Linked DNA regions of Homo sapiens: region 1 is linked to region 2. Evidence: promoter capture Hi-C in 16 types of primary human blood cells and fetal thymus (Javierre and others, 2016). All regions are on one chromosome and are shown on one strand. Each heading gives the region's core, a stretch centred on a gene start or on the middle of the fragment in contact. The rest is flanking DNA. Distances are from core to core; before and after follow the strand shown.

Region 1 (6,425 bases), core at 3,875-6,374, 810 kb after region 2:
AGTCCGTGCCATTGCACTCCAGCCTGGGCAACAAGAATGAAACTCCGTCTAAAAAGAAAAAAAAAGAGAGAAAGGGGTCTAAGGAGATAAGGAGGAAGCACTGACAGTGTCCACTATAAGGCCCAAGAAGCAATTTATGTGTTGGTTTTATGAAACGTATAGCCAAAAACATTCCACTGCAGTAAAATGCTCCAAAGGAGCTGATTTTAAAAAAACTCAATCCTGTAAAACACTTCAATAGTTATAAAACAAGGGATTACTTCTTTCAGGTATATAGCAAAAATATATTCTCCTTGAATGACATACATTTTGTTATATCTTGAAAAGGTGAAATGTTAACCCTAATTCTCTGTTAGGGAATTGAATGTTGACAGATAAACCAACTTTGAGTTGAAACCTAAACCAGCCAATGGTACGTAGATTCACCTTCTCTCCAGATCTGCATTTTCTGATATGAGATGATATAAGAACAAACCAAAAAAAATGAGATTTCAAGACAAAACTGTTAAGTGTATATATCAAAATACAAAGTTAACTCCCACCTACCCACTCTGCAGGAAAATACTAAGTAGCTAAAGAGAAGCACTGAAAACTCCTGAAACATGCTTACCTGATGATTCTTCCCTTGAGCACTTCAGTTCTAGTTCTAAATAGGGGATATTTAGGGGAGGGTATGAGAGGCTTTAGGGGATGATGGTGGTGGTAGACTTTCAGCATAATTTCTAAAATGTGTTATTTCCTTCACAGAGTTTACTATTTGTCTTCTAATTTCTAAAAATGTTTTGTGTTCCTTGATGGAAATGGTAGCATATTAGACTGTGTGCAAGTATGTGTGTGAATGTTCAATATTATAATAAGATGTATTATATTTGTGTAATTTATGCAATATCTTTATTCTAAAATGCCAAAGCATGTTATTGAAATAATCTTTTTCATGCTTAGCTAATTTTTGATGCAATTTCTAAATTTTATAGATTTATAGAAATTGAGAACAGTTACACAGCTTATCTTCATCACTAAAATGTTGTATTAACTACATTAATTGTGTAGTATGGACTAGATAATCATTTAAAAGAAAAATATACTTGTCTATTGCTTTTTAGTGATTTTTACTCTTGAAATTTTATCTTTTAGTAATAAAAGTTAAATTTTTCTTTTTAAAAAAATTTTAGTTATACATGGAATATCCCAGTTAAATGGACTGAAGATAATATAACAAGCAGTGTGTTATTTAATAGGTCAGAAAAAGAAGGTAAATATTATTAATTGATTTATTTCTTCTTTGAATTGATGTACCACATTAAACTAATATAAGTATAAAGATGCAACAGTAAAGCTGGAACTTATGTAAACTTCAGCTAAGTGATCTCTTAAATAATTTATTGATGATTCCAAATCTTCATCTACAATCAGAACTGTTATACCTTGAGATATTCTTTTCAATGATTTATCTTGACTGACTGATTTATCATAAATACCCATATCCAAAGGAGAAGGGTCGCATGCCCAACAATTGGAAGATCAATGTGTAAGTTTCCTTCCTTCCTTCCTTCCTTTTTGTTTTTTCTTTTATCAGATAAGCCATTGAATTTCTTTAACTGTTATATGACAAGCCTGAGGATTTTTTTAATGCTCCCATTAAATTAGACCATTTTTTGGAAATATATTTGTGTTCTATCTGCACTGATTTATTTTTTCCTTACTTGAAAAATGTTAGAGTTGTATAAAAACAAGTAAACCTTCTCACGAAATTCCAGATTGATGAAAAAAATAATAGATAAGGCAAGCTTTAGCTGCAATCTTGGAAAGAATCCTTCTTTTTATATTTTTTCCATTGTATTTGTTTTGGTGTTTCAAAACTATTTCTTTTCTAAGACAAACCAGACTCATCTTTGCCCCATTTCATGAGGACTTGATTTAGAATAGTATTTGGTATGGACTTTCACTTGTGTCTTCTTGAAGATAAAAGTAGATCACTCATTCTTTATTTACATATGCCTAGTTGCTCATGTAAAATATTTTAAAATATTAATGAGGTATGATTTCTCCTGGCCAATAAATTTTTACTCTGTTTCCAGTAGATTGCCTTTTAAGAACAGCTTTACTGAGATATAATTCACATACCATAAAATTCACCTATTTAAAGTGTACAATCCAGTGTTTTTTAGTGTATTCACAGATGTGTAATCATCACCACAGTCAGTTTTAGAAACCCCATACCCTTTAGCTGTCATGCCTGCAGCCTCCCATATGCCCAGCCCTAAGCAACCACTAATGTATTCCCTACCTCTATAGATTTGTCTCTTCTGGTCATTTCACATAAATAAAAGTGTATATGCAGTATTTTGTGACTTTTCAATTAGCATAACGATTTCAAGGCTCATCCATGATATAGCATGTAACTCTACTTCATTCCTTTTTATTGCCAAATCATATCCCATTATATGGATATACCACCATTTGTTTATCCATTTATCAGTTGATAGATATTTGGATCATTTCCACCTTTTGTCTGTTATGAATAATGCTGCTATAAACATTTGTGTATAAGTTTTTCTGTGGATCCAGCATGTTTTTTCCACCTTTGGGCCTTTTAAAAAAAAACGTTTATTGTTAACAGTTTTTGTGATTTTTTTTTACTATTACTACAAACTACCAGCTTTGTCATTATAGAGGTGAAATCCTTCTGAAGCCCTTCTGCACAGGGATTGCTATTACAACAAAACTCTCTCTTGCTTATTTATGTTAATAATTATTGTAATATCGTGATCAAAAAAAATTCTAAATTTTTGCAGAATTCCCAGATCAATGCCACTTTGTTTTAGTATTTTATGCTGTGTTTCAATGCGAGGCTCTATCTTTTGTGGTCTTCTGACCATTTTCTTATTCATAAGTACACTTGCCAGAGGAAAAGGGAGAAGACAGAAAAAAAAAAGACATTTTCAACAATGTGTAACAGCACTGGTAAAAGACATAATAAGAACGTTAGAATTCCACTGGAAGGTTTTCAGTGGATTTGGTTTAACTATTACTAAATATTTTCCCCATTGGTCACCATAGTTAATTGAGGATTGGAAGAATATCTCGGCAGCTGTTTGATTTACTGTTTACAAGTTTGAAAGCGTGAATAATTCATCTACCCTAGTACAATTCACCCAGCACTTTCATGGAATGAAGTTTCCATACAAGTGAATTTTCCAGATAACTAAAGCTTACTCAAGTGCTTTGTAAAATGCATTTCAAGAGTTCACAATAGACATTGTTCTAATATGTGTTATGTACTCCTTAGAATATTTGGAATAATAAATTTAATCCTTAATTACTAGATTAATTCTTTCAAGCACGTATTGCTTATGTGCAAAACACAGAGATAAGAATGGGGGCAGTGCTGGAGCAAAAAAAAAAAAAAAAAGCAATCCTAACCCTTGTGTAGATGGTTGTCTAGGGATGGGTTTGCAGGCAGACATAATGCTGTGTCCTAAGTGCCTCTGTGGCAATGCAGATCACCAAAAGCACTCATAGAAGCATCAGCCCAGGTTTGGGGGTTCAGGAAGCATTCCTAAAAAATATCTAGGCTGAGAGTTCAGAGGCTAAGGATAGAGTATAAATGGGTGATAAAAATTGAATGTAGAGGAGACGTGTGCTCTGGACAGAAGCATGACTGTGAAAGTGAAAGAGCAGGGAGTTCTCACACTCCTTCGTATCCCTTTGTCAATACATTTCACACATTTTTTTGTTCTAACTATTGACCTATCTATGTCTCCCCTCCCCACAGAATATTCTTAGAGGAAATGGAGCTTATTTGTTATTGTTGTTCTGGATCTACAGCAGGCATCTAATAATTGTTTATTGAATAAATGAATGAATAAACAAATAAATGAAGAGGCTGATAGTTACAGAGCTTTGATGACAAATCTGCCTTTATCTGAAACTTCAGAATCATGTCTGGTCACTGAGCCAGAAGCAAACTAGAGGTCTTTTTCTACTTCAAAGTGTCTGCTCCATTTTTAGGCTGTACAATAAGTTCCTGTTTCCTGTTTAAGGACATCTTCAGCTCTCAGCTTAGAGCACGGATGACGAACATGTCCTGAGTGTACTAAATGGGCAACCAGCTCATGTTACCAGTCCTACCTCCCTCCTCTTGGTTTCTTTGATGATTCATTAGTTAGAAATTCTTCAGGCAATAGTGGGACTCTCCCCAAGGTCTTTTATTTACATTTCTATTGTATGTGCTATTTTAGGCGTTAAAACAACAACTAAACTCATAATTTCTAATGAAAGAAGAGAACCTCTATTATAAAACATTTTCTGGCTACTCCAGTTACCCTGAATAATCTCTCCTGTCATCATCTCCTGTCATAAAATATAGTATATTTTATCCTGTCACTTTCATCAGCCCTTATTCCTAGTATTATTACTTTATATTTTAAACAAAATCATTGTTATTAAGCTTCATATGTTCTCTCTTTTCGTTGTTTCTTTTTTTTTTTTTTTTTTTTGGGACAGAGTTTTGTTCTTGTTGCCCAGGCCGGAGTGCAGTGGAGCGATCTCAGCTCATTGCAACGTCCGCCCCCTGGGTTCAAGTGATTCTCCTGCCTCAGCCTCCCATGTAGCTGGGATTACAGGTGCCTGCCACCTCAGCTGGATATTTTTTTGTATTTTTAGTAAGGATGGGGTTTCACAATGTTGGCCAGGCTGGTCTTGAACTCCAGACCTCAGGTGATCTACCTGCCTCAGCCTCCCAAAGTGCTGGGATTATAGGCATGAGCCACCGCGCCTGGCCTCTCTTTTTTTTTTCTCAACTAAATTATAAGCTTCTTGATGACACAAACTACACATATTTCTTGTCTCCTGTCCACCCTATTATCAACAAGGTGCTACGTACATTCTGAGTTCAGAAAGTCCTAGTTTAATGAAGGGTTGTTTGCCCCAGAATGCTGTACTTTTAGAGGTTAACTGCATATATTTTAGTTATGTCTCCATCTTTTAGTATCAGCTGCTATTTTGGCTATTGTTAATGCATCCACATTTAGTAGCATACCACCTGTTTGCATTTAATTTACTGCTTTCTAACATTTAGAAGGATTGAAGGTTGTTATATGGTGTCAGGTAACCAATCTTGCTAAAACATAATATTTTAAAAGAGACATTTCTAAGTGCATAGGATCTGGGCTGGGTCTAAGTTCTAGGAGGTGGTGCGGACTCTACAATAGCTGTTTTTGCAACTCTTACTTCCAGATTTGAGGGTGTCCTCTGGATGGTTTGGACTATCCAGACTGTCCAGTCAGTTTCTATAGAAATAGATTTACTAAACATCTGTGATAATTATACATAAATATTTAATACCAAAATAATGATGGGCATGTATTTTTGTATTTGATGACAAAGAGGGAAGCACTTTCTTCATTTTTTCAAGCTAAGCCTCATGGAATGTGCAAGCTTTGATTGGATGATTATGGGTTCAGTTTTGCTGGTTTAGAAACTCAATTTGTCAGTTCAGCCCTAGTCAACCAAGTCTTGGAAGATCTACTTATCTAAACCAAACATACAAGAGATTAACTAAGAATGCTAACTTGTTAATTTACACAGTTAAAATATACTAGTTAGTGAATCTGAATACTCATGTCACCTAATTAGGTATCTCTTTCCAGGAAGCAAGTTACTTAGTAAGAATTAAAGGGCTGGGCGCGGTGGCTCACGCCTGTAATCCCAACACTTTGGGAGGCCAAGGCAGGTGGATCGCCTGAGGTCGGGAGTTCGAGACCAGCCTGACCAACATAGAGAAACACCGTCTCTACTGAAAAAATACAAAGTTAGCCAGGCATAGCCATCAACACTGAGGCAAGACCCTCTATCAGTAAAAAAGATTACAACTGGCTGAAGGCTCAGATGATTGTTAGCATTTTTAGTAATAAATTATTTTAGTTAACATATATACTTTTTTATACATAGCTGCCTGTAATGCCAGCTACTCGGGAGGCTGAAGCAGGAGAATTGCTTGAACCCGGGAGGCGGAGGTTGTAGTGAGCCGAGATTGCACCATTGCACTCCAACTTGGGCAACAAGAGTGAAACTCTGTCTCAAAAAAAAAAAAAAAAAAAAAAAAAAGAATTAAGGAAGAGTTAAGGTAGATTAATTATTTTACAGATGTCTTTAAATTGTGATAGTGTGATATATTGCATTAGCCAGGTGAGTCTAATTATTGCACTTTAGAAACAATCAATAGTGGTTTGGTGCAATAAAAGTTTCTTGTTCATGCAACAGTCTAAAGGAGATATTCCTGACTGTCATCTTTCCTAGGTGGCTCTCCACCAAATAATGACTTGGAAATCCTGTCTTCTTCCTTCTTATGGCTTTACCATCCCCTGCATCTTGGAATCCCTCACTGGTTCTTTTGCATCTAGCTCAAAGACAGGGGAAGATAA
Region 2 (6,225 bases), core at 3,206-5,705:
TTTCCATTTTTGACTTAAGCAATAGCTCCTTCTCTTGATTGTTTATCATTTGTATGGACTGCAGAAATCTAAAGATTTTCATAGACTGAGACAAAGTTGATTATTTTCCATGTATTTTTTCTAAATTTGATGCAAATACTTCCAGATAGACCAACTGTTTTCACCTGACAGAATATGAAGCAGATGACAAGCACAAGAAGTAGTCTGCTGGGTCACACAAAGGTCTCATGGCAGAGTTTTGTAAGATTCCAACCTGCACTCCCAAACACTTGAGACTTTAAGTATTCATGATCATTAATCTCCAAAAGGTCCTTATATTACTTTATTTTTCTAGTCTGTTCACTTTTATATTTTCCTCAAATCTCCAACATCCCCATTCCCCATCTTCTCTGTCAGCTGATGACCTGGATTCCTACTTTACTGAAAAAAGCAGGCAATCAGGAGAACTTGAACATCCACCCACTTAACCAGCACCAGTGCTCATATCCTCTACCTGTGTTCCTATTAACAGGGCTATGCTATATGCTCTTGGCCAAACTCTCTAAGTATGTACTAGAAACTACCCCCTCTCACTTACCCAAGGCTATGACTCCAATAATTCTCTCCCTCGTCAGTATTTCTACTCTCCACTGAACCATTCTCAAAAGCATACAAATGTGTTATTATTTTTCCTAATGCCCGAAAACTGTTCTTTCCACGGTCTTCCCCATATCAGTTAATGGTAATTCTGTCCTTCCAGTTGTTCAGGCCAAAAACTGTGGTATCATTTTTGACTTAACTCATACCTAACTTCTAAGCCATCAGCAAATCTTTTAGGTCCTTCCTTCAAAATATATCCAAAATCCAACTACTTCTCATTACCTCTGTTGCTACCAACCTGAGCAAAATCACCCGTCTTTTGTCTGGACTCCTGCATGCGTCACCCTGCTTCCATTTTTACTCCCCCACTCCCTTGACCCCTTCTGTTCTCAGCACAACAGCCAGAGGGATCCTAGAAAACATACGTCACTGAATTAATTAATGACTTATTCATCATTCTAAAAACATTTACAAGCCAGTTTTGTGTTCTATTTTTCAAAGGAAATCGAAAAGTTTTCTTCCTTAAATCTTCCTTGCTGTCAGGGAGAAAAAAGTTGAAGAAAATAACGGATCATCAAATTTATTTCCCTAAATACTTAACTCTCAATAAGGCCTTTTTCCTACCCAAGAGAGGATGGCCAAAACTAAGGGAGCAAGTCTCCATAATGCCAGTCCCTCAGGTAAAGCAAGGACATGTGCCCTTTATTTGACCAACCTCTCCCTACCATTAACTCACTCTTTTTTTTTTTTTTTAAAGCTCTCTTGATCTCTTTCGTGCAACTAAAAATACCCCTTAATCACCATGTTTCTCCAGATTTGGGATTGTTCTGTTTGGTTCTGATTTGGTCACCTGAATTCCAAAATATAGGAAAGGTTGAATTGTTCCAGAGAGACTGCTCGAGTAACAGCAATTTTATTATTATTATTATTATTATTATTTTTGAGACAGAGTCTTGCTCTGTCACCCAGGCTGGAGGCACGGTCTCGGCTCACTGCAACCTCCACCTCCCAGGTTCAAGCTATTCTCCTACCTCAGCCTCCCAAGTAGCTGGGACTACAGGTGTGCACCACCATGCCCAGCTAATTTTTGTATTTTTAGTAGAGACGGGGTTTCACCATGTTGGCCAGGCTGGTCTCGAACTCCTGAGCTCAACTGATCCGCCCGCCTCAGCCTCCCAAAGTGCTGGGATTACAGGCATGAGCCATTACGTCCTGCCTAATTTTTTTTTTCATTGAGATCCAATTATCTATCAGTATGGTGACTTGGACTTGAAACCACATGTCCGTTAAACGTAGAGTACTTACTAAGACAAAAAATTTTTTTTCACTGAGGCATATAACATTTCTTAAATTCTCAAATTCCTTTGTGTTTTTTTGTGCCAGAGACCTTCCTCTAAACTCCAAATAGTAAATTTTGAGAAGCCTGTAGAAGATGAAAAAGATTAAAAAGAAAGATTAAGCCAGGTGTAGTGGGGGCATGGCCTATAGTCCTAGCTATTTGGGAAGCTGAGGCAGGAGAATTGCTTGAGCCCAGGAGTTGGAGGCTGCAGGGAGCAATGATCACACCACTGCCCTCTAGCCTGGGCACAGAGGGAGACCTTGCCTCAAAAATATTAACAAAAAATAAAATAAAAAGACTAAAACAGTATTTTAACAAGGCTGGTATTCATTCAACTTCAGGCATGTTTTAAATGTAAATAAACTCTAGAACCCTAGACTAATAAATTTATGAAGACGACTCCTTCCAAGTCTTCCCTATCTCTGTAAATGGCAACCGTTTCCTTCCTTTGGCTCAGGCCAAAACCTTCAGAGTCATCCTTGACTGGCCTTTCTCCTCAGGTCCATTGCACTTGCTATTCCCTCTGTCTGGAATGCTGTTTCTCCAAATAACCACATTCCCTCCCCTTACCACGTGCAGATTTCTTCTCAAATATTCTTTCATCAGTGAGGCCTTTGCTGAACAACCCATTTAGAAGAGTAAATTGCCTCCAACATGGCCCCTCGTCTGCCCTGATCAGACTCCACACTTCCCCTAATTTTACTTATTTACTAGTTTACTGCCCATCTCTCCCTCACCAGAACTCAAGCTCCACGGACAGAGATTTTTGTCTGTTTTATTAACTGCTGAATCTCAAATTAGAACAACATCTGAAGCACAGTTGGGACTCAAATATTTGTATAATGAATAGGAATGACTAAGTAAAACTGTAACATTTGCTTTAGGAAAGGCAACTATTTGATCCTTAAATTATGCACTTAATCCTCCGAACAAGTTCTACAAGAATAAAAACATCTTCATGAAGCATACGTTTAGGTGGTAACGTTTAGGCACAAATTTAAGAAGCAATGCAACATGTCTCAGCACCTGTTCAGCGCTTTAAAGTATACAAGATACAGTTCATCCTTTACTTCTATTAACATAAAACTAGAAATTATCTTGAAAATTGCAGGCAGCATGTGGCATCATAGGTTTACATGATACCAGTTCCTTTTAAGTTCACCTATACAATCAGGTTCCAACAATGAAGTCACTGGATCCCCGATTATTTTCCGCTGCCAGCATAATGAGACTCTAACCTTGGCTAATCTTATTGGAAACATGATCTCCCAACTGCTCTCTTAACATTTTCAATTTCCAAACAAAAGTCCAATATTTTTCTGACCTATTAAAATATTTAAGCACTCAAAAATGTGCTACAAAAGAACTATCTCTGCCTGAAATACTGAGTTGATTAGTACTCATACCGCCACCAAACAAATTCTCAGGTTCAAAGAGAAAGTTCAAAAAATATTAAAAGAGTAAATGAAGATAACTGTATTAACGTTAACCAACAATGAGGAGGAGGCGGGTCACTGATATCTAAGGAAAGAAGAGTTATCGGAACCCTTTCTCAACACTCGAGTACACCAAAAGTCTGTACAAAGGTCGCAAGTTATTGTCTATGGGTTTGCAGAAAAAAAACCATTTAATATCAATTATAGAGAAAGTTAATACGGCATGGTTTTTAAATTCTCAGTTTGCTTCGCATGTTCATCCAATTTACAGAAGCAAAAATGAGCTAAAACCAGTCTGTTCCACTCTATTCCCATGATTCCTACGTCAGTAAGTTCTTCGGCAACTTGGTGCAATTGAGGGGGGGAAAAGGTAATTCAGAAGCAATGCAAATGGGACGGGGGGTACACCTCTCCGTTAGAATGTGACCTCTCACATTCTAACAATAGTGGTGCGAACTTGTACCCAGCTTGCTCAATCACTAGAACGGCAAGATTCTAGCAGTGGTTAAGTTTTTCCACAGCCGAAGGACACCGTCAAGGTCTGCCTTGCATCTGTCACTCACACCTCCAGGATCTCCGTCACCCCAATCCCCCGAAAGCACGAGCCCTCGCTGGGCCCGGGTGCCCCCTCACCGTCACTGCATTTATACTGGCAGAGACCGTCCTCGCCTCCCAGGAGGTCCAAGGCGGCGTTCAGGTACGTGTCTATCTTATGAACGCCGTTCCGGATGGTCTTCAGGGTGGCTCTCCAGTCGGTGGTCTGGGCCTGCTCCTGGCACCTGACAACAGCGGCCATGAGGAGGAGCAGGAGGGTGAGCGCGGGGCGCGAGAGCAGGGCCATGCGCGCAGCGCCGGGCTCTACGGGTCCCCGAGCCGCGGCGCGGGGCGCGTCCCCACAGAGTCCCCAGGACGCGCTAGGCAGCGGCGCGGGCCCCGGACTTGGCAGCAGCCAGCTCCATATCCACGCCTCCTTCCCGGCTGGCCCTCAGGATCTCGCTGTCTTTACGTGAACCGCCTCGGGCAGGCAGCGCCGTCGCGGGGACGCGCCCGCTCACCTGGACCAGCGCGCCCGCTCACCTGGGCCAGCAACCGTCCCCTGTGCGCCTGCGCCGGAGCACGGCGCGTCAGCGGCGCACGGGAGGGGCGGGACGCGCAGGGGTGGGGCGGGGCGGGGGCGGGGTTGGGGGGGGCGGGGAACCGGGGGAGGGGCGCGCGGGGCGGGAAACGGGGGCGGGGCCTCCATGCCCACGTGGTCTCCGCGGCACCCTCCCAAGACCCTTGGTCCTGGTTCACAAGAGAACCTTAAAAAGTACCCAGGCCTGAGCCCCTTTTCTAGGGAGCCTGATTACGTTGTCCCAGGTGGCAGTGGGCGTCGGTATTTTTTAAGAAAGCTCTCCGGGCTGTTAACCGTGAAGCAAGAGTTGCAGAGCTAACCCCGGTGGCCTAACCTGACCAGTCGGGGCTCAGCACAGTAGCCCCGAGAGACAAGCTTTTCTGGGTGTGGACAACATCGGAGAAAATAACCCCTGTGCCCCCTCGCAGAGAGCGCTGCGAGAGGTCCAGCTGAGTTTCCGGCTTGAAGACGTGGTTCCATTGGCAATGTGGGCAGAGTCCGGCTGTCAGCTCGCAGAGCAGGGCTTTTCCTCCTTGCGTCCTCTCCCGGTCCTCCAGATCTGCTGTGGCCGCGGTTGGGGGAGCGGGATCTGGAAGATGCCAACCCATGCCTTGGCGGTGCCTGACTCTAATCAGGACGAGCTAAATGCTAGTTTAGACTTTCCGGAAAAAGAAAATGGGCCAACATAAAAATCATAAAATTCTCCCCTGGTAAGGAAGAAACAGTAGTGTAAACTTAAATACAGTAAAAAGTAAAATAAATCTTAAGGAAGTCATTGTTTTTCTACTCAAGGGATTTTGTAACTTGATAGTTACAGTGACGTTTGTTTCTCTGTACCTACCACCCTGCCCCCAGCATTGTGCGGGATCCATAAATAACTATTGCAGTAGTACTTTGTATCAGTTGTAAATATCTGGTTATCTTAGTATCACAGCAGTTTCCAAGAATTTTACAGTAAGATCCAGAGCAATGTTGAAAGTATTGGGCAGACCAAGCGCGGTGGTTTACGCCTGTAATCCCAGCACCTTGGGAGGCCTGGAACTCCTGAGGTCAGAAGTTCGAGACCAGCCTGGCTGACATGGTGAAACCCCATCTCTACCAAAAATACAGAAAATTAGCTGGGCGTGGTGGCGGGCACCTGTAATCCCAGCTACTCGGGAGGCGGAGGCAGGAGAATCACTTGAACCCAGGAGGTGGATGGATGTTGCAGTGAGCTGAGATTGCACCACTGCACTCCAGCTTGGGGCACAGAGCGAGACTCTAAAAAAAAAAGAAAGTGAGTAAGTATTGGGCATAGGTGTGTCCTTTCTATAAGAATTACCAATAAGTTCTAGGTTTGGCCTTTTGTGTTTGTTACAAACTAAATGAGCTTATAATAAACGTTCAGTGCACAGTTCATAAAAATTACATCCCTCTTTATTGAGTGCTTACTATGTGCCAGGCACTTCATGAATATGATCGCTCACATTCAGAACACTACTTTACAAGGATGCAGACTTTGGGCAAGTTAGAAACATAGAAAGGCATTCCTCCCTACAAACAGGGTAGCCCAACAAACGGTGTAGCTCCTGGCTGGAGACTGCCTGCACTTCACTCAGCCCCTCAACCAGGAGTCTTGGGCAGTGATTAATTCCTACCACAATGGAGAAGGGGGAAGAATGTTCCCTGGAAGGTATTATTATCTTCCTCTTTTACAATAAAAGAGTCGAGGTGAGAAGTCATGTGACAGTATCTACTCCAAACCAAGGCCTCTGTCT

The links. Contacts are between HindIII fragments. The CHiCAGO score rates a contact against its expected background, and 5 or more counts as called.
Region 1: a fragment that was not itself captured here is called in contact with the fragment with the promoter of PLA2G12A in region 2 in 1 of 17 cell types (monocytes); the score reaches 5.0 in monocytes.

What each region holds. Positions count from the first base shown.
Region 1 is chr4:110,530,026-110,536,450 of GRCh38, forward strand. It overlaps ENPEP (glutamyl aminopeptidase), which reads left to right. Exons shown (of 20, transcript NM_001977.4): 11 at 1,173-1,252. Among named protein-coding and RNA genes, the nearest start is that of ENPEP, 57 kb to the left of the region's middle. The HindIII fragment of the contact is 625 bases long and covers 4,813-5,437 here.
Region 2 is chr4:109,725,615-109,731,839 of GRCh38, forward strand. PLA2G12A (phospholipase A2 group XIIA) reads right to left here and starts at 4,456. Exons shown (of 4, transcript NM_030821.5): 1 at 3,988-4,456. The coding sequence starts at 4,195. It also overlaps a transcript of CFI not described here. RefSeq lists enhancers at 3,845-3,914, 4,574-5,450 and a silencer at 4,245-4,584. The HindIII fragment of the contact is 6,805 bases long and covers 1-4,841 here.